Linked DNA regions of Homo sapiens: all the other regions are linked to region 7. Evidence: promoter capture Hi-C in 16 types of primary human blood cells and fetal thymus (Javierre and others, 2016). All regions are on one chromosome and are shown on one strand. Each heading gives the region's core, a stretch centred on a gene start or on the middle of the fragment in contact. The rest is flanking DNA. Distances are from core to core; before and after follow the strand shown.

What was found. Contacts are between HindIII fragments. The CHiCAGO score rates a contact against its expected background, and 5 or more counts as called.
Region 1: a contact is called between a fragment that was not itself captured here and the fragment with the promoter of SEC61G in region 7, in 6 of 17 cell types (naive CD8 T cells, total CD8 T cells, non-activated CD4 T cells and 3 more). The highest score is 8.3, in naive CD8 T cells.
Region 2: a contact is called between a fragment that was not itself captured here and the fragment with the promoter of SEC61G in region 7, in 10 of 17 cell types (total CD8 T cells, non-activated CD4 T cells, naive CD4 T cells and 7 more). The highest score is 8.9, in total CD8 T cells.
Region 3: a contact is called between a fragment that was not itself captured here and the fragment with the promoter of SEC61G in region 7, in 1 of 17 cell types (total CD4 T cells). The highest score is 5.7, in total CD4 T cells.
Region 4: a contact is called between a fragment that was not itself captured here and the fragment with the promoter of SEC61G in region 7, in 3 of 17 cell types (non-activated CD4 T cells, naive CD8 T cells and total CD4 T cells). The highest score is 5.6, in non-activated CD4 T cells.
Region 5: a contact is called between a fragment that was not itself captured here and the fragment with the promoter of SEC61G in region 7, in 5 of 17 cell types (naive CD4 T cells, total CD8 T cells, naive CD8 T cells and 2 more). The highest score is 8.3, in naive CD4 T cells.
Region 6: a contact is called between a fragment that was not itself captured here and the fragment with the promoter of SEC61G in region 7, in 4 of 17 cell types (naive CD4 T cells, naive CD8 T cells, total CD4 T cells and 1 more). The highest score is 7.8, in naive CD4 T cells.

The regions. Positions count from the first base shown.
Region 1 is chr7:55,429,243-55,433,409 of GRCh38, forward strand. It overlaps LANCL2 (LanC like glutathione S-transferase 2), which reads left to right. Exons shown (of 9, transcript NM_018697.4): 9 at 1,984-4,167. The coding sequence ends at 2,078. Among named protein-coding and RNA genes, the nearest start is that of LANCL2, 66 kb to the left of the region's middle. RefSeq lists enhancers at 4,062-4,111, 4,142-4,167. The HindIII fragment of the contact is 2,918 bases long and covers 542-3,459 here.
Region 2 is chr7:55,270,864-55,274,971 of GRCh38, forward strand. No RefSeq gene overlaps it. Among named protein-coding and RNA genes, the nearest start is that of ELDR, 17 kb to the left of the region's middle. The HindIII fragment of the contact is 4,625 bases long and covers 1-3,933 here.
Region 3 is chr7:55,296,263-55,300,384 of GRCh38, forward strand. No RefSeq gene overlaps it. Among named protein-coding and RNA genes, the nearest start is that of ELDR, 43 kb to the left of the region's middle. RefSeq lists an enhancer at 2,883-3,581. The HindIII fragment of the contact is 6,525 bases long and covers 1-4,122 here.
Region 4 is chr7:55,341,461-55,345,701 of GRCh38, forward strand. It overlaps the pseudogene LOC100129276. Among named protein-coding and RNA genes, the nearest start is that of LANCL2, 22 kb to the right of the region's middle. The HindIII fragment of the contact is 5,129 bases long and covers 215-4,241 here.
Region 5 is chr7:55,462,158-55,466,261 of GRCh38, forward strand. It overlaps a transcript of VOPP1 not described here. Among named protein-coding and RNA genes, the nearest start is that of LANCL2, 99 kb to the left of the region's middle. The HindIII fragment of the contact is 3,179 bases long and covers 212-3,390 here.
Region 6 is chr7:55,407,055-55,410,783 of GRCh38, forward strand. The region is part of intron 5 of LANCL2 (LanC like glutathione S-transferase 2); the gene reads left to right. Among named protein-coding and RNA genes, the nearest start is that of LANCL2, 44 kb to the left of the region's middle. The HindIII fragment of the contact is 1,012 bases long and covers 1,729-2,740 here.
Region 7 is chr7:54,757,536-54,761,324 of GRCh38, forward strand. SEC61G (SEC61 translocon subunit gamma) reads right to left here and starts at 1,676. Exons shown (of 4, transcript NM_014302.4): 1 at 1,623-1,676; 2 at 1-59. The coding sequence starts at 53. SEC61G-DT (SEC61G divergent transcript) reads left to right here and starts at 1,778. Exons shown (of 3, transcript NR_110040.1): 1 at 1,778-1,989. RefSeq lists a silencer at 1,326-1,645 and an enhancer at 1,879-2,814. The HindIII fragment of the contact is 2,422 bases long and covers 1-2,086 here.

The sequences.
Region 1 (4,167 bases), core at 751-3,250, 670 kb after region 7:
AGAATTGGTATTAGTGTAACTTAAATGTTTGGTAGAATTCTCCAGTACAAACTTCTAGGTCTGGAGATTTATTTTTCTAGACTTTTAAAATAAATTCCGTTTTTAAAATAGTTATAGGGCTGTTCAAGTTATCTATTTCATATTGGGTGAGCTGTCATAGTTTGTAATTTTTGGGAAATTGGTTAATTACGTACATGTGGTGAAATGCAAATATGTAAGCTATTGGTATTCCTTATCATCCTCTGTCTGCATCGTCTGTAGTGGTATGTCCTGTTTTAGTTTTCATACTGGTAATATTTTTAAATCATATTTTAGAAATACGAGCAGAAAACAGAGCATGTGTCACATGTTTTGCAGAAGATGATCTTTTTTAATATTCAGAGAACTCATAAGGAAAAAGTACTTACTAGAATAAAAGTTGTAGTCCTCTATGTCATAAAAATGCAATGCATTTGCATCAGATATAACAGAGTTAATGCCTGAACTCTAAATGGAGTTTATCAACTTGATAATAGCACCTTCAGAGCCCCAGTGGGTCAAAAGCTTTGGATGTACAGCTCCCTAAAGGCGGGAAGTTAATAGGTCACCTCCTTCCCCTGTGCCTCGCCAGTGCCTGGCAGACAGAACTGTGGGGGACTCTCACCAAATTCCCGTCAGGGGACGGAGGGATTATTAAGCCGTGTGCCTAGCAATGCAGGCCATTGTGGCAAACTGGCCGGCTGGAGGAGCCACTGGGAGGGCTCACTGGCACCTGGCACCCCTTCTGGAGGAGCTCACTCCTGCTGGAGTGCACCGCCCAGTGGATCCGCTGCCCACACACCTGAGCAGGAAAGCCAGGCTCATCCCCGCAGGGCCTGCTGTAGGGCCTCCTAGGCTTGTTATGGGTCCCTGTTTACTTCTCATGGGCACTCCTAGGTCAGTGGTTTTCTAATTTTTTAAACAAGTTTCTGGAACCTTTCTTTAAACAAAAACTTACAGAGAAGGCTGGGAACACCCCAGATGACCGTCAGTAGGAAAAATGGGTAAACAATCTGCAGTGTACTGTTCAGCAGTAAGAAGGGGCCAACTATGAACAGGCACAGAACGTGAATGAATTGCAGGAACCCTGACGAAGGAGCCAGATACAAGGGCTGTACACTGTGGCCATGCTCATAAGAGTGCCAGAGCAGGCAGAACTAATCCATGGTGGACCAAGACCAGGCTGCTGGTTACCTCTGGGGGGACCACAGGGATGGGAGGGACTGGAGAGGGGCACTTGGAACTTCCTGGGGTGATGGAAATATTCCAGGTCTTAATCGGGTTTTGTTTGCACATGTATATGCATTTTACAAACCTCAGAGAAGTACATTTTGGATTTATGTGTTTTATTGTACGTGAATTTTACATCAAAAGAAAAACTGTAAACAAAAACCCTGTAAGGGAGGATTGTTCTGATTTGAGTGGGGACAGGAGACCTGGAGGCCTTGGTGGGCTACTAGCACCTTCTCCACCCCACACCCTTCCTAAGCTGCTGTGAGTCTAGTTGAAAACCCACTGCTCAATTACTGCAATGATTTGGGGTGGGGATTTTGACCAAATTGAGGTTTGTTAAAAATAACATTCTTCAAATATCAAGAAGATATAAAATGCAACTTTGAGCATATACAGGCTCTGAGGGGAAGCTCCGTGTATAGGAATATCGTAATTAGCAGCATCCATAACTTCCATAGCGATTCTGTGATGCCACCTTAAAGTTTCAAGATATAAGATTAAAGCCCAGTAACCAGTTTTTTAAATATAAGATAGTGAGGAAAACTGGTGTTATTATATTACCTGCCAGGTGCTAAATATAAGGATATCTTTGGTTTTTAATGAAGTCATCTTTAGAGTCCTCAGCACCTTTCCCACATGCTTGCAGCCCCTGGTAAGGGAAATGATTAAAAGTCACTGTTATAGACACTACCCTTATGCCATTCCTAAGAGGCTCCTCATTTTACATTGCAGGCATGGCTGGCGCTATTCACTTTCTCTCTGATGTCCTGGGACCAGAGACATCACGGTTTCCAGCATTTGAACTTGACTCTTCGAAGAGGGATTAAAAGGTGCAAAAAGACAACTAAAATACCCATTTGGACCAAAAGCCACCAGATTGCTTAGTGCCTGACACAGAAACAACTGGGAATCCTGAAAGAGAAGCAGACACCGTCACAGGCCCCTCTGGTTAGACTAGCATGAGTGACCGAAGCCATCCATCAACATTTTCTAACAGCACCCTCATCAATATAAAATATGACTTCTTCACATACAGATTCTCTGTAGTGTTTGCATGTTTCTTGGTGTTTGTTGTCTCCAGGTGTAAGCTGTTTTAAATGGAAGGCCCTTCTATTCCTGAGGGCTCAGAGCTGACCATGCATGAATGTATGGCAGTGTCCACTTTTCTGTATAAAATGTATAAAGTGGGGTTTCTTCCATATTGACAAATGAGGGAACAGGTGGTGTCTATCTTGTATATCAGAAAGATTATCTAGGGTCTATCCTAGTGATAATACATTGTCAGCCTTTTCTGTGGCACCTTCCAGATGAGAATGAGGGAGCGACCACTCCAAGGACGGACAGGACCAGCAGTTCTGCAGGGGCGTGCTGGGGTGGTTTGGGAGTGCACAGCTGAACGCTTCCCGTTTGGATTTTACACTCACCTTCGTGTTTTAAAGAAGCCTCAGAGTGCATTGCAGCTCTGTCAGGGCCCCATTCCCAGCAGAGGCTTCAGGTGCTTTGTGTAGAGTCCAGGGCAGCTGGAGCTTTGTTGGGGAGACTTCTGGACCCAAAGGGAGCTTTCCCAAGAAGCCTTTGATGGCCACACTGTAGGCAGCAGTGACTAAGCACTGGCAGTTCCAGAACATTTACCCAGGTATATGTTACTAAAACAGGCTCCACCTCAGTTTATCAACATTATAAGTTACTGTTCTAAGAAAAGTAAATACAGTTCCAGATGGGTTATTGCAGATTAACAGAAAGACACTCAACTGGACTCATGTCCCTGCAATTAAACTTACTTCAACCTTTTGGAAAGTTATCAAAATCTAAATTTGGAATGAATGCATTTCCTATTTTTTGTCTACTTTTGGGTGATAAAAAGTACTAGCCCTTATTTATAGATATGAGAAACATAATGTTCTAACCAACAACATTATGGTATTTGTGTGACTTTTATTTGAAAAAATGTGAGCAGTAATTTGGGTTAGCCTACCTTCATTAATTCTATCACATAGATTTCAGTTTTTAGAAGGGTTTCTGTCATCATGGAAGAGGTGGTCTGGGACTAGGTACTTCTCGTCTTGTGAGCTAAGGCTTGTGTCATGAAAGACAAGAGGCCTCTCTTAACAGCCCAGTCCTTGTCTGCAGGGGGAGGCCTGAGCATTTCCCAGCCCCAGTGTCCACACCTCTCAGAAAAGAGAAAAAAGAATGTCAGTTTAGGAGAAAAGCTTCCTTTTTACTTGTGTGGTTATGTGTGGGGCTGGCACCCGAAATGTGTGACATTCAGCTTCTAAACGATGCCTGGAGAGTCTGTTTGCTGCAGACACCCTTGCTCCTGAGTCATTATTTTCTTTCATGTTAGATTGATGACTTCTGTGAATAGAAATCATCCTGATCCTATTTTACCTGGCCTCCAGGGCCTGTTGATGGGCTTTGCAGGCAGTCCAGCAGCCCACACCTGCAGGCAGGATGCTGTCGTCAATGAGCTGAGGGTAGCTGCTTTGCTGAAGACCTCACACGATGTCCAATCTCATCCAAATAACATTGTTCCCATCCTCCCCACCCACCACATCAAAACATAACACATCACAGCACTCAGTAGAGGTCCTGCCTCCCCATTTCTCAAGGGAAGCCAGTAGGCAACACAGCCAGCACGGTGCTCTCCAGGGCAGCCCCTCTCAGACGAGGAGGCAGCGGGTGCAGCCAGGTGTCTGCAGAGCAGCCACAAAGGTGGCCTAGGATGCGGGTGTCTCCCCAGGTGAGTCCATCCACACACGTTTGAAAAACACTATTAGTCTTTCTAACACACTGAGGGAAAGATTAAAATCTGTGGAATAAAGGAGGAGATTTTATTTACAGATTTTTTTAAAAGCCACCTGGGTTGACACCTTCCTACTTATCCACTAGATGTCATCAGAGGTGCTGTTCCGTGGT
Region 2 (4,108 bases), core at 371-2,870, 510 kb after region 7:
GTGCAGCTACATGGGGGCTGAGACCCTCGTCCATCCCCCAGGGACCAGTTTCCCACCTTGGGCCTTAACTGCCTCCTTGAGGCACCCCCACACCCTACAAAATATGACATAGGCCTCCCAAACTTCAGAGCCTGGAACAAACACCCCACCCCTGGGAGATGAGGGCTTTGTCCTCACTCCTGTCTCGGGGTCACTTCCCTGAGCCCTGTTTCTTGTCCCGGCATTAATGGCATCTTGGGATGATGGCCAATGGGAACTCCCTCTCCCACCACCATCCCCAAAGACCACCACCCCATAGTCTAACGTGGTGACATCTCCCATGGTTCTCTTATTGAACTTGGAACAAACAGCTTTTAAATCAATTTCACAACTACTCCTCCTACACTACAGCACCCTCCAGTGGAGGAGAAGGCCACCGGGAGGCCCTGGGTTTCCATCCAAAGAGCAAAAATATTTAAAGCCTACAAACCTCCCCTCAAGCTCCACGAAGCCAAGGACACAACTTTAAGGAAACTAAGCTGTAGCAGCTGCCATCCCCACCTCTCCTGGCCTCTCCTTGCAGGCTTGGGTGGAGCCTGAAGGGGGTGAGGACATGCTGGAGAAAAAGTCACATGGGAAAAAAAAAAAAAAACACAGGCAAGACAAGGACGACTTGCCAGAAAGTCAAAAGCATGTTGACAGAAGGCCACCTTGGGGTGGGCCAAAGAGCCACACGATTATGGCCAACAAGCACCTCACGCAAGGAGAGGCCGGGCATGGGACACCAGCTCCCCCTGTGTAGCCCCATGTTCGTGACCATGCTGATCAGCCTGCAAAGGCAGTGATGGCGCTGGGAAGAGCATGCTGCACGAGAGGAAGGCCACAGCTGAACAGAGGCAGCCAGAGCATGCTGGGACCTGGAAATGGGAGGCACATAGTCCAGTTCTCCTGACAGCAGAAGGTTCCTGATGTTCTCTTCTAAGTGTGGGCACTGCGGCCAAGCCTGGACCTCAGATGCACGCCGTGGAGAGGCTGAGGAGCAGGCAAACTTGCACTTGTGTCCACGTGCAGCTTCCTCGTGCAGACCCCAGCACCAGACACAGTGCTGCCAGGCTGACAACCCAGGGCCACAGCCTCCTGCATAAACAAAACAGGCCAATCAGGGTGCCCCATGCCTCCAGACCCCACAGAATAGGATCCAAGCAAAAGCAACCAGAACGTCCATGAATAGGGGAGAGGACATTCGAGGACAAAATTCTCCTTCCTTACCCAATTGCCAACTGCAGGAATTGTGTGCACCTGGAGTGCTGGAGTTCATCTTTTCCACAGCAGGGAAGGTCCAGCCAGTGCAGAGCAGAGCTGAGAGGGCGGGAGGCTGACTTCTGGCAGGCACTGACAGCCTGACCCCACTGCTGCTGAAGAAACTCACTAAACTAGTTCTGAGAGTCAGGAAGGACCCTTTTCTTCCTGACCTGATTGTATTTGGACTTCTATCATTAGTCCTAGCTAGAACAGAGGGAAATCTGCCAATCTTACTTCTAAAATTAGGACATATATTGAGCACAGCCCCCCGGCTCCCACACCCTTCCCCAGAGTTCATGTGAAACAATGAACCTGGGGGCAGCAGACAGAGCATCCTCACGAGGCCTGGCGCTATGCCAGATGGGCTGGGCCACTGGGGCAGGGAGGGGGAGCTGCCACCTCACATGAGGCACATCAGGTGCCTTGGGCAGCCTCAGGGTGCCAAGATAGCCAGAGAAGCAGAAACTCCAGAAATGCCGTTTCCCTCCAGAAGGACTGGAGCCTCAGAATCAGGAACATCAGCCCTTTATCCCAAGCTCCTCACTCCAGACAGCAGGACATGCCTGCTTTGAGGTGCCACCCTCAGAAATCCAGTCATCCAGAAGTACAACCAAATATTGCTGGACAGAGCCTGTTTGGGACTCTATAAGGGGTTTCTTGGGCCAAGATGGAGCTATAGGACTGCTATGGGCTGAGCTGTGTCTCCCAAAACTCCACCTGCTGAAGCCCTAACTCTTCACGTGATTGTATTGGAGACCGGGCCTATCACCAGGTGATTAAGGTTAACTGAGGTCATGAAGGTAAGCCATGACCCAATAGGGCTGGTGTCCTTATAAAAAAGGAGGAGATGTCAGAGCTCTCTCTCTCCCTCTCTACCATGTGAGAACACAGCAAGAAGGTGCAGTCTGTCTGCCAGGAAGAAAGCCCTCACCAGAACCAAACCCTGCTGGAACCTTGATCTTGGACTACTCCAGCCTCCAGGACTGTGAGAAAATAAATGTCAGATGTTTAAGCTGCCCAGTCTATCAGGTTTTGTCATGGAAGCCTGAACAGACTGCAGTGAGGACGGCAAGGATCTCTGGGTAAATATCTCCCAGGGTGATTCCCTCCTGGTACTCGGATTTTCTGGACCTGAGAGAACACATCAGTAGCCTGAACTCTATATGCTAAAAGAAGAGGGCCTGCTGTGCCTGCCGCTGACTGCCTGTCAGACACCCCAGCGTCAGACAGGATCGGCATGGAAGGTCAGGTCCCTGCTATGTGACACCTGCAGACCTGTAAGGTGGATTTTACGGCCAGGAGCCCATCTTCCCTCACTGAAGAAGTCAGGACTGCTGGCACCAACCTTGAAGAAAATCAACAGGCAAGGTCCTGGTTCAGGACCCACTTTGACAACTGGGCCATGGTTTGGGGACATCAAGTGGGCAGAGTGAAGAGGGCCTTCCAATTCCAAATGCCCAGGGATGTCAGAGACTGGGCTGCAGCCAGGAACCTTCCTTGGACAGACAGTCAGCAGGGGAGCCGCCCGGGAGAAGTTCACAGAAAGCAGCCTGACCCCACTCGAGCTCCAGGAAGGTGGGGACCGTGTCTGGCTTGGTTCACTGTTTTCCTCCCGCACTTGTGCAGGAGGCTACCCCGGCTGATGGTGCCTTCCCTGAGCAGGGGAAATGCTGGGCCCTTGGACAGGTCCTGGCAGCCTTCCCGCCATTGCCATCACTGCAGTTGGGCTCCAGGCAACAGTGACAGGGATGCTCCATGTGTTCACACACAAAGGACATCTGTCCTGGCCACCCAGTGTGATTTCCCGTCCTGTAGCTCTCTTCTGGGTTCTTAGGATGAAGGCCAATTCTCACCTCTTCTCGGCAATTCCTTCTCGGGAAAGCCATCCTGTCAGGGAGAGAGGGACTGAACACGAAACAGAATTCATCAGAGGCTGCTGGTGCTGGCAGCCTCGCTGGCTGTATAGCCATAAATCCCAAGGCCCACCACCCTGCCCAGTGACCCTCCATATTTCTAGAATCCATTTGCTCTCCCTTCCCCTGAAGATTTTTTTCACAACCGCTCACTGCTCAAACTCCCCACACCCCTCCCTTCTCCTCACTCTCCAACCACGGCATCACTTCTTACTTTGCTGAGTGTGCACATGCAATGATCTTCTAGTGCCACCACCTCTGCAGGATGTTCTGCACCTGGGCCCGGTGAGGCCCTGCCCACTTTGTGGCTGCTGGCGAAAGCCCTCGCTCCTTCCTCAAGCAGTCCCTCCCACTCGTGTCAACTCAAGGACTGTGCACCTATAATTATCTCCTCTCCCTTGGGCATCATCAGTTCCCCCCATCTGCTGACACCACCCCAATTATTACCATAAACACACAACATGTTCTAGTATCTCCCACCTTTCTAGACCATGCCCCCCTGAGCTGCTGCACCCTCCGTGGCAGCTCCCTGCAGGACCCTTTGCCGGCCCTCCCCTCTCTCTCATCCACCACCCACCCCTGATGTGAATAAGAGCCAAATGTTCAGATCACTAAATGTCTATTCCCAGCCCCAACATCTTCCCTGAAATCCAAACTCAAATATCCCAATGCCTACTTAGATGTCTAGTAGGTGTCTCAAATTCAGAAAAATCAAAACAACCTCTTACCAAATACCTTAAGCTTGTTCCCTCAGCCAACCCCATTTCAGCAGATTACACCTATATTTTCCCCATTGTCTCAAAGCAAAACCCGAGGAATCTTTATTAACTGCTGTCTTTCCCATACATGCTGAAATTCTTGCTGGAATTCAGCAGCAAGTCATGCTCACTCTTCCTTCATGAATTCCAGATCCA
Region 3 (4,122 bases), core at 34-2,533, 540 kb after region 7:
AGTGCCTTGGGTTGGCTATGGGCCAAGCAGGGGACCTTCCCTTCATCTGCACAGGGCGCCAATTCACCTCAGCCTTAAATTAGCCATAGACCAAATCCAGATAAGCGGTAGCCAATAAGAACCTCAAATGGGCCGGGTGGCTCATGCCTGTAATCCAGCACTTTGGGATGCTGAGGCAGGCAGATCACGAGATCAAGAGTTTGAGACCAACCTGGCCAATATGGTGAAACCCAGTCTCTACTAAAAGTACAAAAATTAGCCGGGTGTGGTGGCAGGTGCCTGTAATCCCAGCTACTCGGGAGGCTGAGGCAGGAGAATCACTTGAACCCGGAAGGCAGAGGCTGCAGTTAGCTGAGATCATTCCACTGCACTCCAGCCTGGGCAAAAGAGCAAAACTCCGGAAAAAAAAAAAAAAAAAAAAAAAAAACCTCAAATGGGGTACTTAAAGCCCAAAACAATTTGTAACTGGGTCCTTGAGCTTGTTGCTGGGGCCCACTCTCACCCTGTGGAGTGCTTTCTCGCTTTAATAAATTCCTGCTTTCACTGCTGTGTTCCTGCATTTCATTCCTCTGCTACTTTATTTGTGAGTTTTGTTCAATTCTTTGTTCAAAATGCCAAGAACCTGGACAACTTGTAGTCAAGACCCTCCACCGGTAACAGTATTAGGCATAACAGTAGAAGTACATCTTATCGATTCATAAGACCTTCTCTTTTTTTTTTTTTTCCTATCTTAGACTTGCAAACTCTTGATAACCTGTTTCATTACTCTGGCAGTTGTCAGTTAAATAGCCCTAAGTCTGCATATTGAAGGAAATAATTCTTAGGTGAAAAATCAGCAAAATTTACATCTCAAGGTACAGAGAGAAAAAGTCTGGTGGTGCTAGAGGGAGATTAAAGATGTATGCCAAATCAAACATAAAATTATAGAAATCTATCATAGGATTGTCTAAGGAGACCAATTTATTTAGATAGAGACTACCTATATTTTAACTGGATCTCTGAGCTCTGGGCAGAGCCATCACTGGAATCCTGGGTCTCCAAAAAGGGAGAATTATTATGAGGCTAGACCACACGATGCTTTTACAGTGCACTTAAAAAAAAATTTTTTTTTTTTGAGACAAAAATTTTTTTTTTTTTGAGACGGAGTCTCGCTCTGTCGCCCAGGCTGGAGTGTAGTGGCAGGATCTCGGCTCACTGCAAGCTCTGCGTCCTGGGTTCATGCCATTTTCCTGCCTCAGCCTCCAGAGTAGCTGGGACTACAGGCGCCCGCCACCAAACCCGGCTAATTTTTTTGTATTTTTAGTAGAGACAGGGTTTCACCGTGTTAGCCAGGATGGTCTCGATCTCCTGACCTCATGATCCGCCCGCCTTGGCCTCCCAAAGTGCTGGGATTGCAGGCGTGAGCCACCGTGCCCAGCTACAGTGCACTTAAAAATGTTTTTAAACAAAAACATTTATAAGTGTCTAAACTACACTCTTCCTTAAAAACACACAAGAGTAGTCTCTGTTCCAATAGCTATTTTAGTAAAAAAATCAGGTAACACAATACAAAAGCAAGCAGTTTAAGAGCTGAGATGAACTTGTCTGTTTACACTCTTGGGGTTCCATAAGGAAAAACAGAGGTTTCTCCCCAAAAGGGAGTCTGGCACCTTTTCTGTTTTCTTTAAGGAATCCCAATCTAATCTACTAAAACTATTTTAGGTCTCTCATGCAGCAGAGGGTGCAAGAGAAAGGGGAGACAGCAGAAGTAAATGAAGAAAACAGAATTCATTCAACTAGAAGAAAAAACTTTTGCTGAAAAAAAACAAGGTCCTAGGAGAAAAAAAACAAAAACAAAAACATGAAGGCCTTTTAAGTACAAACACACACACACACACACACACACACACACACACACACACACAGAGGAATCTTGGATGTTAGCTTTTAATTAAGCTGACCTTTAGTCCAGTTGAGCTCCTTTAAAAAAATCTTTTAAAATCTCATTACCATATTTCCGCTAGGACAAATTCCTGCTATTTCAGAAGTACCAAGTATCAAATGAGAAAGGGCTTGATTTGGGAACCAAATCCAGGCTCTTGTGGTGAAAAGAGAAGGCAGAACTTTAGCTATGGAACTGCAGCACGGGGCGACAGCCATTGCTCTTTCCGTTTGGCCTGGCTAGCAAAAAGGTGGCCTCGTTATGTTAATAAAGACCCTTAAGTACTCAAAATAAAAAATCTTTCCTTTTTGTTTCCCTTTTGCTGGCCATTTTTCTCCCCCCACCTCACCACCTTTTTGTGTGTGTGTATGGGAATTTAGCCACTTGGGAGTCCTCGTTCCCATAATTTGGAACTTCCCTTCAGATTTGATCAAGTCAAATAGAGTTGGTCAAACCCAATGGAAGAAAGACTGAAACAACAAGAACAACAGAAACAATCAACCAACCAAAAAAAAAAAAAAAACCAGTTAAGCAAAACAAATGATCCCACAACTTATACTATTACTGAGCACTGTAACACTAAGGAGAAATTAAATTTTAGCCAAGACAAACCCCAATTCAGTTACTTACCTAGGGATGGGTCTCAGGCCGAAGACTGCTCTCTACTATCCTAGATGCAGGAGAAAACTTAAACTTGTCTTCCCTGTTGGAAGAGAGCTCAAACTCCATAAAGGAGTCCAGAAGGAGCTTTCCTTCAACATCAAAGCAGGAAAACTTGCCTTCCTTGTGTTAGAAGCAAGTAAAACTCAGAGAAGAGGAAGTTGTACAGCAAAATAAACTTTAGATCTTGACCAAATTTTGGGAGATCAGGAATTCTCTGGAGGGGGTACTTCCAGGCCTCAGCAAATTGTCCTACTCATTCGAACCATAAAGATAACTCAAATTGGTACCAAGAACCGATGGGAGATTTGTCAAAGGTCAGGGGCACCTCCACTCAGAATCCCTCAGTGGTTACCAAAATGTGAACCCCAAATATCTGAGACAGATCTCAGTTAATTTAGAGAGTTTATTTTGCCAAGGTTGAGGATGCGCACCTGTGACACAGCCTCAGGAGGTCTTGACAACATGTGTCCAAGGTGGTTGGGGTACAGCTTGGTTTTATACATTTTAGGGAGACATGAGACATCAATCAATATATGTAAGAAGTTGATTGCTTCCATCTGGAAAGGAAGGACAACTGGAAGCATGGAAGAGGCTTCCAGGTTACACGTAGGTGAGAGACAAAGGGTAGCATTCTTTTGAGTTTCTGATTAGCCTCTCAAAAGGAAGCAATCAAATATGCATTTACTCAATGAGCAGAGGGTTGACTTTGAATAGAATGAGAGGCAGGTTTGCCCTAAGAAGTTCCCAGCTTGACTTTTCCCTTTAGCTTAGTGATTTTTGGAGTCCCAAGACTTATTTTCCTTTCACACTGTAAATGAGCCAAATGTACAATTAAAAGGCAAAGGTTTTCAGATTGGATGTTTAAAAAGGCAGACACAACTTGTGTGCGGCCTATAAAAAACCTATGCTAAATATAAAGACACAGAGAAAAAGGACGGAAATAGATACAGTAACAGTAATCAAATGAAAGCTGTAGAGGCTCTGTCATTTTAAAAATATTATCTGAGAACTTTCAGGGGAAATATAATGTGAAGAACAAAGAGAGTGACTTCATAATGACAAAAGTGTGAATTCAACAAGAGGAGGGCCGGGCGTCGTGGCTCACGCCTGTAATCCCAGCACTTTGGGAGGCTAATGCAGGTGGATCACTTGAGGCCAGGAGTTCAAGACCAGCCTGGCCAACATGGCAAAACACCGTCTCTACTAAAAATACAAAATTTAGGCAGGTGTTGTGGTGCATGCCTGTAATCTCAGCTACTCAGGTGGCTGAGGCACAATAATCACTTGATCTGGGAGGCAGAGGTTGCAGTGAGCTGAAATCATGCCACTGCACTCCAGCCTGGGCGACAGAGCAAGACTCTGTCTCAAAAAACATAACAAAAACAAAAACAAAAACCTAACAAGGGGACATAACAATCTTAATGTTTATGTTCCTAATTACAGAGTTTCAAATTACATGAAGCAAAAACTGATAACACAGAAAGAATAGGCAAATCAGTAATTATAGTCAGAGATGTCAACACCATTCTCTCAGTAAT
Region 4 (4,241 bases), core at 1,529-4,028, 590 kb after region 7:
GGTCAGGCTGGTCTTAAACTCCCAACCTCAGGTGATCCACCTGCCTCGACCTCCCAAAGTGCTGGGATTACAGGCATGAGCCACGGCGCCTGGCCGTTGCCTAGTTTTTGTGGTAACAAACAAAAAAAAGGCGGGGGGGGGGGGAATGGAGCCTCCATGTTGAACACACCCAGCCCCCAAGTCTATTGGCAAGCTGCTAGCCTTTATCCATGCAAGCTTTCTGCTTCCCTATCTTAGTGTGCCCAAAATAGGGAAAGGAATATGCTCATTAAGGTCCACTGTTTTTACTGGGACTCATTGTATTTATGTGGAGTTTGGTGATTATTCAGGAAGCTCCCCCTCTGTTGTCGAAGTGCTTATTTATGTTTTATAGCCCAATCTTCCAGACTGCTCTTTGTTAGAAAAAAAGTAATTTCTTTAAACTGTGTGTGGTTAAAAAGAAAGTAATTTCTTTTTTTTTTTTTTTTTTTTTTTTTTTGAGACGGAGTCTGGCTCTGTCGCCCAGGCTGGAGTGCAGTGGCGCAATCTTGGCTCACTGCAAGCTCCGCCTCCCGGGTTCACGCCATTCTCCTGCCTCAGCCTCCCGAGTAACTGGGACTACAGGCGCCCGCCACCACGCCCCGCTAAGTTTTTTTTAATTTTAGTAGAGACGGGGTTTCATCGTGTTAGCCAGGATGGTCTTGATCTCCTCACCTCGTGATCCGCCCGCCTCGGCATCCCAAAGTGCTGGGATTACAGGCGTGAGCCACTGCGCCCAGCCAAAGAAAGTAATTTCTGAGCTGCTTTTTGTTAAAAGGAAAGTTTTTGCCGGGGACTCTTGCACCCTATCAACCTAAATAATTTCTATCTTCTGTATAGGAGTCCAGGGGTCAGGGCAGAGGCGCAGGTGGTGCGACGCCACGGAGTTGGTCCCCATGGCCGTGAGCCAGCCCCAGCGGCACAGCCGCCCTGTCCCCAGCGGCATCTAGGTGATGGCCAACTCCAGGCCGCTCTCCAGCTGCTTGGCCTGGCACCTCAGCTCTGCCAGCTCCCGGAAGCAACAGGCCACCAAGCGGCCCCGGGCTCCCGTGGCAGTGAGCCCTCTACTCTGCTCTCAAAAACTGATGCCGCCAAGGAGCCCGCCATGGCCAGCCCTGCTCAAAGCCAGGGCCAGCCCCGGGAGCCAAGCCGCCAGGCAGCCTTCCTCCAGGGAGGGTCTGGAGGCTGAGGGGGGGCGGCCTGCGGGTGACCAAGGAGATAGCCATGCAGCGCCACGTGGGGGACCTCCGGCTGCTGGGGAGTCCCCGGCCACACCCAGTTCCCCAGGCCTGGCCTGGCAGGATGGTAGCTGCCTCTAAGAGGGGAAACCCGAGTAAGAAAAGCGGGACCCCAGCCGCAAAGATGGTGCCCAGGAGGAGGACAAGACCAAGGACAAGGGCTGAGGGCAGCCCGGGGAGATGCCCGGTGTGGACAAGAAGGGCCTGCAGGCCAGCAGCCCCTGCCGCAAGGCAGAGCGGGGGAAGCGACCAGTAAGAAGCCATTTTCGGCCACCGAAGTCCATTTGCTGCCCCAACCCTCCCAGACAGGAAGCACACGAAGGCCCCTGCAGGGAAGCTGGTGGAGTGGAAGGCCTGCTCGCTAGACCCCTCCCAGGACGCCCCAAGCTGAAGAAGCGGGTCTTGAGCCACCCTGATCTCTTCGGAGACCAGAGTGAGGACGAGGCCCCGGAATCTGTGGCGCCGAGGATGTGGGCCCCTGCCCTCCCAGCCTCAGCTGGGACTTAGACTCGGTCTCCAGCCTGGGCTTCGGGGAGGCTCAGAAATCGCCCAAGCGGCTCAAGGACTCCCCGCCCCACTCCCCGGCCCATCCTACTCCTCCTCCTTCTCCTCCAGCGCGGGCAGGATGTGGACTACTCAGCCCTAGAAAAAGAGGTGGACTTCACTCCGACCCCCTGGAGGCGTGCCTGTGGATCTTCGACGAGTCCACTAGCGTCAACACGGAGGACAAAGGTCGACTGGCCTTCAGCCCCCCAAGGAAGAGACCTTCGGGTCTGACCACTCTGTTCAGAAGAGGATGATATCTTTCCAAGCAAGGCCAGGAGGCGGAGCCCTAGAGGAGGAGTCCCGCGGTGCCCCGCCCACCGGCGCAGGAGTTAGTTGGCTACCTGCCGGCCCAGCACGCGCAGAGGAAGTAGGTGAGCTGGCTGCAGGCCGCCCCCAGGCTAGCGGAGAGCCGTCCTCGCTCCAAGAGGATCGCCCACGTCCCCAAACCCGCTTGGCTGCAGCCCCTACAGAAAACCCTCGTGGCCAGCTGCAGCCAGACCCCCAGTGAGGCCCCAAGCCCCTCAGCCAGCTGCTTGAGACCCGCAGGTGGTGAGGGATGGCGTCCAAGACCACCACCATCATCACCCGTAAGCGACTCGCCCACAGTCCATCCTTACAGAGTGTAAAGAGACCCATTATCCCCTAAGAGTTTAGGGGCAGTCACCACCGTCATCCGCCAACGCCATCTCAACCTGTTCATCCAGAAGTGTTCCGTTCTGCGCCACCAGGAGGCTATGGAGAAGGCGCTGAAAGAGGAAACGATGACCTGAGACCGGCAACCCCGGAGAAAACCTCTACCTGAACTGCCACGAACACCCTCCCAGAGCTCAGCCGCCTGGGAATCCCCGAGGCCACAGGATGTGTCCCGGGAGGAGGAGTTGGTGGGCAGGCTGGCCGCCGGGACCAGCTTCTCGTGCAGCTACTGGAGCAGCCCCCGGTGAGGAACCTGAACCAGGCCGCCCTGTGCAGCCCCTTGAGGAGCTCCTGCTAACCCAGGCCCAGCTCAAGAACGGCTCCCCGTCCCACACCCACCGCTCCGTCTTCTTCACGGCCAAGGAGAAGAAGCCCAAGGACTCCTCCTGCAGGACCTGCTGTCCCGCGGCACCGAGTCCCACGTGTCCTCGTCGAGCTCTATGTCCGCAACGAGGAGTTGCTGCCACTGGGGGCGGCTGGGAGACCCGGGGTTGCGCGGCGCCATCAGGTCGCTGAGCTCACCTGCCGGCGGAAGGAGCGCCTGGAGGGCTTCGTGAGGACGTTTGAGAAAGCTCTGGGGGACGCCTCCCCACTGGGACCCATGCCCTGGACTGTTGGGCGCCCTGCACCACGCACGGCCTGGAGCTGGCCCGGTAACGCGGCCACAGGAACGTGGTGCGCGACGCCTTCGTCAAGACCGACGGCTTTCTTGCCGACATTAGCGTCAGCTGCAGGCAGTCCTGCTGAACGTGTTCCGCTTGGCACCAACACCATCGTCACCCGCACCGCCTGGAGAGCGGCCTGTGACCTCTTAGGGTATCCACAGCACGGAGGTGGACGAGTCCGCGCTCTCCCCAGCGCCTGGGCCTCCCCTATAAGTGCTCTCTGCGGAGCCTCACGGCCGACCACGTGGGACATCTCACCCAGAGACGCATGTACAGCACAGCTCCCGCGGGGGCGCGGCGCCTGCGTGCATCCGGCTATCTGGAAGGTCCGAGAAGACCAAGCGCTGGCGCCCGCCCGCCTCTCCTGCCGCCCTAGGCCTCTTCCAAAACAGCGCCATACATCTCCACGAGGCCAGGCAGCTCAGAGCAGCGGGATGAGCGGACGCCGAGAACGCGACGCCCAGCAGACCCGCCCAGCCCAGCCCGCGCCCCGCCCTGGCCTCTGGCGCGCGTCCCCGCCCCGCTCTCTGCAGCCCCCAGTCCCGCAGCCCTGGGCCGTCTCCGCCCCTCAGCCCCACGGCCCGAGCCGCCAAGAGACCCTCGCACCCGCCCGCGGCTCCAACCAGGCCCTCATTTCCGCTCCGGGCTGCGGCAGGCGCCTCTGCTTCTCACACGGGGCGCCGGGTGGGCTGGTCTCAAGTTTGAGACAGGCTTTTTAAATTCTATATTGTTATTTGTATTATTTTTAATGTAAACCTGATGAATTGCACAGTACCTTCCCCACTGAGAAGAGCAGGGGCCCGGCGCTGGCTTCCCTCCTGGGGCATAGGGACCGGACAGACCCGAACAGGAGCCGGGGCCACGGCCACACGCGGCCTAGCGTAGGTTGGACACGCCTCCCGGGCTCTCGGAGCTGGCCTGCTTGGTGGGAGCCGGCTTCTGCAACCTACCTACCGCCCCCTGCGCTGGACTCCGTTACCTCTGAGAACCAAAGAAGCCCCTCGCCAGCCCCCAGGGCCCACTGGCCTCCAAATGCAGTCTTCCTGCAGGAGCACGCTCCTCGTCTGTGGGGTTCTCTGTA
Region 5 (4,104 bases), core at 551-3,050, 700 kb after region 7:
TTATCACATTCTCTCCTGGCCTGTAAGGTTTCTGCTGAGGAATCTATTAGTCTGATGGGAGTTCCCTTATATGTGATTTGACACTTTTCTCTTATTGATTTTAGAATTCTTTTTTTGTCTGGCTTTCAACAGTTATAAGCTGAAATGTTCCTCAAGTGATAATATACCTTGGGGAAGACTTTTTCGGGTTCAATCTATTTGGGTATCTTTAAGCTTCCTGTATCTGGATGTCTAGATCTCTTCCAAGATGTAGGAAGTTTTCAGCTATTATTTCATTAAATAGGTTCTCTATGCCTTTGCCCATCTCTTTTTCTTCTATAACACCCAATATTCAAATTTCATTTGTGTTGTCTCATAGGCTCTCTCTTTTGTTCTTTGTTCTTCTTTTCTTCTTCTTTTTTTGGGGGGTTGGACTGGGTTATTTCAAAAGACCTGTCTTCAAATTCAGAAATTCTTTCTTCTGCTTGGTCTAGTCTATTGTTGAAACTCTTGATTATATTTTTTTTTTTTTTTTTTGAGACGGAGTCTCGCTCTGTTGCCCAGGCTGGAGTGCAGTGGCGGGATCTCGGCTCACTGCAAGCTCCGCCTCCCGGGTTCACGCCATTCTCCTGCCTCAGCCTCCCAAGTAGCTGGGACTACAGGCGCCCGCCACTACGCCCAGCTAATTTTTTTGTATTTTTAGTAGAGACGGGGTTTCACCGTTTTAGCCGGGATGGTCTCGATCTCCTGACCTCGTGATCCGCCCGCCTCGGCCTCCCAATATATTTTTAACTTCATTCATTGAACCCTTCAGTCCCAGTATTTCTGTTTGGTTCTTTCTTTATGATATCTATCTCTGTTGAATTTCTTACTCAGATCATAAGTTGTTTTTCTGATTTCTCTGTATTATTATTTATTTCTAGTTTTATTCCATTGTAGTCTGAAAAGGTACTTGATATTATCTTAATTTTAAAATTTGTTGAGATTTATTTTGTGGCCAAACATATGGCCTATCCTGGAGAATGTTTCATGTGCTGACAAGAAAATGTATTCTGCAGTTTTTGTTCTATGTTCTCTTGTATCGCACTGAACTTGTTTAATAACATTATTTAAAATTCTTTTTTGGGCATTTCATGTATTGCTTTTTCATTCAAACCTGTTCCTAGAGAATTACTGTGTTCCTTCAGAGGCATTCTGTTTCCTTGCTTTTTCATGTTTCTTATATCCTTACACTCATATTTGTGCATCTGGTGTAACTGTCTCTTCTTTCAATTTTATGGATTGGCTTTCATAGGAAAAGACTTTTCCTGATAGATGTATCTATTGTATTGGTTGGGTAGGATGCTTTGGCTTTTATTTTGGGTGGGGGCAGTAGTTTAGTTTCCATATTTCTTCAGCTATAATCAGTGTCAGTGGTATCTGTGAGTTCCTCAGTGGATTGGCTGTGGTTGTTTGGGGAGGCTGTGGCGAGGCTTTGCTGGGGATGGGGATGCCAGGTGGGGCAGTCTTTGGGCCCCAGTGGTGGTAGTTGTGGGTCAAGCCTGCTGATCTTCCTCTCCCACCCCCGCTCCCCAGCAGTGTGCATGACCTGCTCAGTGGGTGGGGTGGATTGATCCCCAGGACCCTGGATATTGCATGTGGTCACTGATAGGGGATGTGTCAGCCAGGGCGGGCCTGCCCTCAGGCCCCACAATAGTGCACATAGATGCAGGCTACAGCAGGCAGGGCTGGTCAATCCCCAGATGCCTGGACAACATGTGCAAACTCCGGCAGACTGGGCAGGTCTCTTCTCAGACCAGCAGAGGCATGTGCAGATGCTAATGGCAGCAGGTGGAGTGGATTGATCACCAGGCCCCAATGTACATGGCAACTGGCAGGGATGACACTGGGCAGTATAGACCTATCCTCAGCTCTCTCAAGGGTACACACAGGCACAGGCTGTGGTGGGTTGAACAGGTTGATCCCCAGGCCCTCAGATGGTATGTCTGGGTACCAGCAGCAGTGGCAGAGTAGGGGGCAGGCCTGTCATCAGAACCCACGATGGTGTGTGCAGGCACTAGAAGTGGAAGGTGGGATAGGCTGATCCCATGGTCACCTTAACAACATGCATTAGTGTGGGCAGAGGTGGTGGGCAGGTGGCCTACCTGATGGTGCATGCACTTGCCAGCTGTGGTGGGCAGGGCAGGTTGATCCTCAGGTCCCCTTTATGGCATGCTTGGGTGCCGGTGGTGGTGATAGGTGCAGCAGACCTGTTTTCAGTTTCCAGGATGGTGCCTGGCAAACCAGTTTCCAGGTCCCTTGAAGGTATCTGCAGGTGCACAGTGGCCCTGCTGCTGGAAGTTGGGGGATGGGGTTGCTGTCAATGGCGTGGCCCAACCCAGGCAGCTCTCAGGCTTTGGGGAGCATGAATTCCAGTTCCCTTTGTTCTGGTGACTGCCTCCCCAGTGCACAGTACCACTGATTCCCTGCAGCATAGAATACTGTATGAGTCAGAGTCCTGGGAATCTGGCTATACTGCTGGGTCCAGCCAGTGTTGTGATGCTGCAGCCTTCTGGATAGATGTCAGTCAGGGGATGTCAGAGGGATGTGGAGATACAGAGGCTGTTGAGTCCCGGGGAAGGATGTAGTCTGGTGGAGGCTGGCCTCTCAAAATAATGCCATGCTGCAGGTGTCTTGATCTTGGGGTGTGTGGGGGACCCAGAGTGAAGTTCTTCTCTGGACTAATGGCATTGGAGGACTTGAGGATGCTCCTTAGACTAGTCTCAGGGCCCACAAGGGCTGAGGGGCTCTCCTGTGGCTAGGACTGTAAGAGTCAGTGTGGCAATGTAGACTGCTGAAGATCTCTTGCTTACCTTCTCTCTGCACTGGGGGGTTTCTCCTGGCTCCGAGCTGATTGCAGCTGGACCAGCTGCTTTGCTTCCCTCTCCTTCCAAGCCTCAGATGTTCCCTGTCACTTCTCTGATGAATTCCATTGTTCTCTTAGAAGCTCCACTTGTTATGTGATTGTTCAGTTTTGGTCCTTCTTTGTGCAGAAGTGCCAGGTGTCGCTAGTCAGCTATCTTGAAACCCTTCTCTCTGGATGTACAAAATACTGTTTACACTTCGAGGTTTGTTCTGGGATGCTCGCAGATCTCATCCCATATAAGTAGTGAGGGAAAAAAGAGGTGGTTGCCTAAGGTTTCTCCTTCTATCTCTGATTGGCTCAACATCCACTGGGCAACACACATCAACCTTTCAAGACAAGAACGGTAGGTGATGTGTGGAGTGGTGATGGTGTATGTGAAAACCCTTGGCTTCCTTTACATGATCGTAGTCTGAAAGATGGAGACTACATGGAGAATGTCTCAAGAAAATTCCTCCTTTCACACTCCTCTGACGATACCACAGACCGACTCCTCACAGATGAGCAAAAGCTTGGGTGGGAGCTTATTTCTTCTCCCACTGTGCTTCAACTTCTCAAGGAATTGTAGAATGAGAGAGAGCAGAGGATTTTTAATATTTGCTGATTATCCACTATGTGCAAGCTTCGTATAAACAATAGGTAGTATAATCTCCATTTTATAGTTGAGGAAACTGAGACTGGAGATTAAATCATTTGCTGGAAGACACAAAGCCAGTAATTAGTAGACTCAGGACTTGAGCAAGACTGTCCATCTTCAGAGCCCACAGTCTTTCCATGACACCAGCAATGCACAGTTAGGTCCACAGGGACTCTCTCACATCTACTCTGTGCTCTCATTCTTGGCATCCAAAGAATGTTAGGCACTGAGAACCGCTATGGACTGAATGTCTGTGTCCCCCCAAATGTCATATGTTGAAACTGAATCCCCACTCCGATGGTGTTTGAAGGTGGGCCCTTTGGGAAATGAAGTCATGAGGGGGAGGGAGCCCTCATGAAAGGGATTAGTGGCCCCAGAGAGAGAACCCCTCACCCTTTCTGCCAAGTGACTGTGCAGCAAGAAGACAGCCATCTATGAACCACGAAGCAGACACTCACCAGACACCGAACCTACTGCATTCCTGACCTTAGACTTCCGAACAGCCTCCAGAACTCTAAGAAATAAATTTCCTTTGTTTATAAACCACCCAGCCTATGGTATTTTGTTATAGCAGCCTGAACACATT
Region 6 (3,729 bases), core at 985-3,484, 650 kb after region 7:
CACAGGAGGCTTCTTTGAGCATGTGCAGTGGTTGGACCTCTGTGAGCACCTGCACCCAGCACAGGGAGGGAACTGCCTATCCTTCAACTCGTGCTGGAGACAAAAGGAGTTAGGTCTGGAAAAACTGACTAGGCTCTTTTCAATTCAGGAAAGCCAGATGTAGAAGAGAGTTGGAGTGAAGCACAGAACTAAAAATAGGGGGCGAGAGTGAGTGTCCATGGTCCAGGGTGAGACTGCCTCTCTGTCACCGCCAGCCTCAGGCACCGTCACCTCTCCCTCACCCCAAGGGGCAGCACCACCTCCACCCCACTCGGGGCTTGAAGTCACTTTTCCGAAGAAACAAGTAGCTCAGATAAAAGTTTCATAAGTACAGGTATTTGAAAGCCCCCATTAAAAAGTTAGTCTGCCATCCATGATGGTTAATTTTATGTGTCAACTTGACTGAGCCCTGGTGCCCAGACATGTGGTCAGACATTCTGGATGTTTCTTTGAGGGCGTTTTTGAATGAGATTTACATTTAAGTTGGTGGACTTTGAGTGAAGCCAGCTGCCCCATAGGATGTGAGTGGGCCTTGTCAATCAGTTGAAGGTCTGACTAGAACAAAATGCTGGACCCCCAGGCAAGAGAGGATTCTCCAGCACTCTGCTTTCAGACTCCAGCTGCAGCTCCTTCCTGAGTCTCCAGCTTGCTGGCCACCCCAGGCAGTTTGTGGACTCATGAAGCCTCTGCAGCCAGTTCCTTGGAGTGAATCTCTTTCTCTACTTTTACACATCCCGTTGGTCTACTTCTTTGGAGACCCCTGGCAATCCCCCATCCAGCCACTCCACAGTGATTCCCACCGTTCCGCAGCCCCTCCGGTGCACTGAGGACAGCGAGGAGCTGTGCCTTATGCGTGAGCACAGACCAGTAGCCGATGAGCGGACATGGCAGAAAAGCCCCAGCTTGAAAGATGGAGACCTGAACAAGTAGAAATAAAAACAAAGAGAAAGCAGGAAGTGGAAGAAAGCTTCGAATAAATAATAATTCATAATTAATATCCTCAGGGAAATAAGAGAAGCTGTTGCATCCAAGAAACAAACATTTGAGGGAAAAAGAGAGCTCTTGAAAATAAAATATATAATAGCTGAATTTTTAATAAGTTCATGAAAATGGGAAGCAAAGTCACATATCTTAGAAAGCAGGCAGAAATAGACAATGGGAGAGGAAAACGTAAGAAAGAGGATTAATCCAGGAGGTTCAGCATGTGACTAGTGGGAGACCTAGTGAGGGAGAACACACAATAGGAGGGAGGAAAATAACACAAAAATATGCTCTAGAAATGAGGGACATAGGCTGGGCGCAGTGGCTCATGCCTGTAATCCCAGCACTTTGGGAGGCCGAGGTGGGCGGATCACTGAGGTCAGGAGTTTGAGACCAGCCTGGCCAACACAGTGAAACCCCGTCTCTACTAAAAAAATACAAAAAATTACCTGGGCCTCATAGCGGGCACCTGCAATCCCAGCTGCTTGGGAGGCTGAGGCAGGAGAATCGCTCGAACCCGGGAGGGAGAGATTGCAGTGAGTCGAGATCACGCCACTGCACTCCAGCCTGGGTAACAGTATGAGACCCTGTCTCAAAAAAAAAGAAAAAAAAAGAAATGAGGGACATAGTTGCATATTGGAAAGACCTACCAGTTTCCTACACAATGAGTGCAGACAGACAAATCCACATCATGCCCGTTATTGTGAAAGCTTAAGATAAAGGGATAAAGAGACAATGCTTAAAACATTAGACGGGAAATAGCTGGGTGTAGTGGCATGCGCCTGTAGTCCCAGCTACTCGGGAGGCTGAGGCAGGAGAATTGCTTGAACCCAGGAGGTGGAGGTTGCAGTGAGCCGAGATCGTGCCACTGCACTCCAGCCTGGGCGACAGTGAAACTCTGTCTCAAAAAAAAAAAAAAAGAAAAGAAAAAAACAGGTTATGTACAAAGTCCAAAAATGACATTGGACTTTGCAACAGTTTCATTGAAGCTAAAAGATAAATGGAAATGATTTCCAAGTTTTTTTTTTTTTTGAGACGGAGTCTTGCTCTGTTGCCCAGGCTGGAGTGCACTGGCGCGAACTCGGCTCACTGCAAGCTCTGCCTCCCGGGTTCATGCCATTCTCCTGCCTCAACTCCTGAGTAGCTGGGACTACAGGCACCTGCCACCATGCCCGGCTAATTTTTTTTTTGTATTTTTTAGTGGAGATGGGGTTTCACCGTATTAGCCAGGACGGTCTCGATCTGACCTCATGATCCACCCGCCTCGGCCTCCCAAAGTGCTGGGATTACAGGCGTGAGCCACCGTGCCCGGCCAACTTCCAAGTTTTGAGTAAAAATGATTTCTAACGTTGCATTCTGCCCAGAAAGTTACCAATTAAATGTGGAGTAGAGCAAAGACTGTTTAAAACATCCTGTCCCCCAAATTTAATTTCCCTGTACTTCATCTCAGGAAGCTACTGGAGTGTGGTGTCTACCACAACAAGGGAGTACTCTAAGAAGGAGGATCAGATCCAGGGAAGAGGGGCTCCCATACAAGACAGGGGAGCAGAATCCCCAGGAAGTTGACAGGTGCAAGTCCCAGGACAGCAGTGTCACAGAAGACCTGGAAAGCAGCCAATTATGGAGAGTCGCCTCCAGGGAAAGCAAAGTCATAGTAGATTTGACCATGTGGAAAATCTTATCGAGAGACTTTTTACAGAGCTGTTGGTGGGTATGAAAAAGCTTAGGTACTGGTTTAAAGAAAACTAAGCAAATAAAATGTGAGAAAGTTACTCCAGGAAAAACTAAAAGGTGTAAAAGAATATCTGTAATTCAGTGTATTTCCTGTTTCAGGAGCAAACAATATTTGCATAGTATAGTCTGTAAAGAACACAGGATTATGGATGGTGACCAGAGTGAAACTAAAAATGGTGACCAGAGTGAAATTCTCTTGGGAAGATCAGAGGAAGGAAAGTGTCCCTCATCTGCCACAAGGGGAAACCTAGAATCAGTAACTCAGGGCACAGCCATGCATGGATTGTTTAGAAATACTGTGGTAATATGAATAAGCAGCTAACAACCACCACAACAAAAAGGAACTCAGTTGTGTCCTAGGAACGACATGGTCTGTTGGTCTTTGAGATAAGCTCCTCAACATTTTTTGACATTTTAAAGTGGTTCTGTATTGATTACCTGTAAGAAAGTAATTTTAAAAGTACCATGTAGCCTTTTGGAAATAAACTTAATGACCTATAGTTTTTAAAAAGCTAATATATTCTCTAAGTGTGTATCAGGAAAAACACCTAAAGATTTTCTACTAAGTATAGTTTTATTTCAATGAAATTTAGAAGTATTGATATTCCTTAAATTAGCTTTCCTTCATTTTTAATAAAATTAACTTTTTGTTGAAGAAATGAGGTTTTTATTTCATTCTGTAGGAGATGTCATGTTGTAAACTTTGGTGCTTATGGAATGATGAGAATTTAAAGCAATGCAATATTTTATTTCAGTTTTGAGAGTACTTTACGTCACCCCTGACATGTGCAATTAAAGCCAAGTGAAAAATCAGTGGCCAGAGGCGGGTTCTCTATCTCAGACTTTAGCAATATGCGGATTTATGTGGTGCTAACATGTCACTTTAAAGACATTGTGTGGTGTTAACATGTCACCCTGAGACGTTCTGTGGTGCTAATATGTCACCCTAAGACGTTTGTGTGGTGCTAACCTGTC
Region 7 (3,789 bases), core at 426-2,925:
GAGTCCTTTACAAACTGCCGACTTGGCTCAACAAACTGCATTACCTGATCCATGACTGCCTGTTTAAAACAAAAAAGATACTCACTGGTATTGGTTCTCATACAATAAGCACTTGCTCATTTATATAAAGATGTAAATGAGACCAGCCACTGAATTCACGTCTAACATGGGTCAATTCCACCTCCTAAAATAAAACAAAAAACAAACTCCAAAGCCTAAATTGATATTATTTTTGGAAATTTCAGTTAATTATCAAAGGCAATAAGAAAAGCACAGATCTTACTCATGATATCTTCACTGACAAAGAACAGCACACGCAATATAAAAAGCCTATCTCTATTAAAAGGTTAAAAAAGGTTACGCAATTGGTAACACATCCATTCCTTTTCTCACTCTGCAGTCCCATCCATTTCTCATTCTACAGTCCCCTCACCGCTCCTAAGGAACCATCAGTGTTGAGATCCAACAATTACTTTCCATATTTTATTTTAAACTACGCAGAAGCCAGTGTCTTGTACAGTGAATGCCAACTACGGTGCTGCAAGAGCCTAGAATAGAGGCAAACGTGAATTTCAACCTTGATTTTTCTAAAACGTGCCAATACAACATACTTTTCTAAAGTATAAAGAATGGCTAAAGGAAGACGCAAATTCTGAGAAGCTACTAGCTAAATTTCAAACTTTTCGATTTGAACACATCTTTTAAGGAAACAGGGCTATATATTTTACCATACAGGTTCTTTTGAGGAATCTATTACCCAATAGAAATGTTATCCGATCTTAGCTTTGAGAGCCACTGCTATAGTAAGTAAAGCAGCCAGGGTGTTATTTGTATTTTCCTCCATTTCCAGTACTCAGAACAGTGGCCAGGTGGTAGTTCAAATCACTGGCTATGGAATGTAAACCTCTGTAAGCCCCAGTTGCCTTCCTTAGTGTAGGGTGTGGACAACGAAATGAAATAATGTCAATGAAACACCAGGAATTCTGCAACGTTCTGGGGGCAAAAACACAGTAATGTCTGTTTTCTCAGTATTTCACTCAACTTTGCTCTTGAAATCCAAAGGGCTTAAACTTTTTGTAATCATAGTTGTCACGAAGGAAGCTAAGAATTCTTTATCCAGAAAAACGCACGCTACACACAATACCGCACTCAATGTCAGGGGTAGAGATCCAAAAACCAACTATGATCTCTCGAACTAGACTCTAGACCAATGCTCTCACTTTAAACCACGGAAGCGGCGGCAGGACCAGAGCTGAGTACAGCTCTTCCCAGACAGGACTCCACAACAGCACACAGAGCCAACCCCGAAGGGATCGGGCAGCAGGACATCATCTTTGGCTGCAGCACAGAAGACGCCGGGGCAGGACGCTAAGCCCTGGAGCCCCGCGGGCCGGCCACCCAGCTCGCCGGGAGTCCGCGGCCCTGGGTCTGCCTTCCGCCAGAGGCCGAGTTGGTGGGATGTCGGCGGCCAGACCCCGGCCCTGAGCCAGGGGACCACTTACCGCCCGCCCCGCGACGGCCGCCCGGGGAGACACGCCGGCTCGCCCACGCCCGCTGCCCCCAAGAGTCGCAAAGGTGTGGCCGCCCCGTTCGCCCGTACCGACCGGTGGGAAGAAACTCACCTACCCAACCGACACCTAAAATGCCAGGGACACGTAGCACTGGAGCTTGCTGATGGAGGCCCACCGGAACCGGAATCCGGGTTTCTGCCAACAGCCCGCCCACTCCTCCGTCCTATTGGTTCCTTACGCGAAACCTCAGTGCGCAAGCGCAGCGCGACGTGCGCCCGGCCACGCTTCCTGGAAGAGATGCATTGCGGAGCTCGCTAGTTGGGGCGTTGGCCTTCCTTAGGAGTGTGAGTCTAGCGTTATCCCTTTTTTCCGGCTGGATCCCGGGTTACCCCACCAGCCCGACCTCAACCCACTCACGTCCACAGCACGAGCCCCAGCGGCCTTGCGCGGTGCTTGCTCTCTAGTAGCGGCTGACTAGGTAAATCCTAAGTTGTGGTTTTTTTTCCTGCGGTCCAGCTTGATGTGTGTCCTTACGGTACATACTTTTTGTATGTATATAATGTTGGTCGAAATGAAGCTTATGAGCAATATAATGTTATGGCCTAATTCAAAATAGTATCCCCACCCCAAACTTTGACTTTGGCTGTCATTCACGGTAATGAATGCCGCTGTAATTGAGGCCTTTGTCAAACGCTAGGTTTGGTTACGGGAGTGGTCATAATGTACACACAGCTCCCCACTTACCCACAAGGATGCATTCCAGGAACCCCCCGCCGGATGGCTGAAACCGTCAGTAGAGACGGGGTTTCACCATATTGGCCAGGCTGGTCTTGAACTCCTGACCTCGCGATCCACCCGCCTCGGCCTCCCAAAGTGCTGGGATTACAGACGTGAGCCACCGCGCCCGGCCATGTTTCCTTTTAGCAATGGAGCATAACGGGATCTGAGGAACAATATAACTCAGGAAGAGCTGATGGAACATTAAGACGTGTTACAACTCTCAGTGCTTCTTAAACTTCTTCAGTAACTGAAATCTCCTGTTAAGTTTTTTAGTAAATGAAATTTGTAACCCCAGAACCTCCAGATATTGATTCAGTGGGTCAGGGTTAGAGGTCACACACCTCCGTATATCTGACTGTAGGTGGTCCATACACACTACACATACCTTGCCTTAGCTTTAAGAGTCACTTTTAAATTCTGAACAGACTGAGATGCGTTTGACTAGTTCTTCATCCCTGGGACTTCAGCCCATGTGTCATCTCCTTAGAGGCCTATAGTGACCATCTAAGGCAATCCTGTCTATCTCATGCTCTTTTTTCCTTTTTCACAATACCTTCTTCATTTGCTGCATAGCATTTGTATTAACATTTATTTATTTATTCCTCGGTCTGTCTCCCTACACTGTAAATCCCCTTACTAGACCATAAGCTCCAAGTGGGTATAATATAGCATCTAGTAAAGTGCTAAACACAGTAAATGCTCAATAAATAATTTTCAAAAAAATAATTCATTCCAAAAAAACATAAAATCACATGTTGGCAAGTTCACCCCAACCACCAAATGTCTGAGTTGACAGTATTTTCAGCAAAACACAGAAAATCAAGTAACACATACAGTGGTTCCCCTTATCCAAGAAAATCTGGTTCAAAAAGAGATGTGTACCAGAAGGTAATCTGGGAGAGGCCACATTCAAATAACTTTCATTACAGTGTATTGTTATAATTGTCTACTCACCTGATTTCGGGAGTTTGAGACCAGCCAGACCAACGTGGAGAAACCCCGTCTCCACTAAAAATACAAAAATTAGTCTGGAATGGTGTCGCATGCCTGTAACCCTAGCTACTCAGGAGGCTGAGGCAAGAGAATCCCTTGAACCCGGGAGGTGGAGGTTGCAGTGAGCTGAGGTCACACGACTGCACTCCAGCCTGGGCAACAGAGCAAGACTCCGTCTGTAAAAAAAAAAAAAAAAAAAAACAGGCTGATAACAGCAAATCTGTGCAAAAATACGTAACAATCAGAACTCTAGAACTCTAATTCCTGGTTACTAGGAGTGTAAAATGGCATAACCCTTTTGGGAAAAGTTTAGTAGTTTATCATAATATGAAGCATATATACACCACCTATGGCTCCACAATTCCAATTCCAGGTACTTATTGAAGATATATGAAACTAAATTCACAGAAAGACTTGTACAGGAATGTTCGTAGTAACTTTATTGATAACAGAACTAAAAGCAACAGGGTACCATCAATAGAATGAATAAACATACAGGTATAGT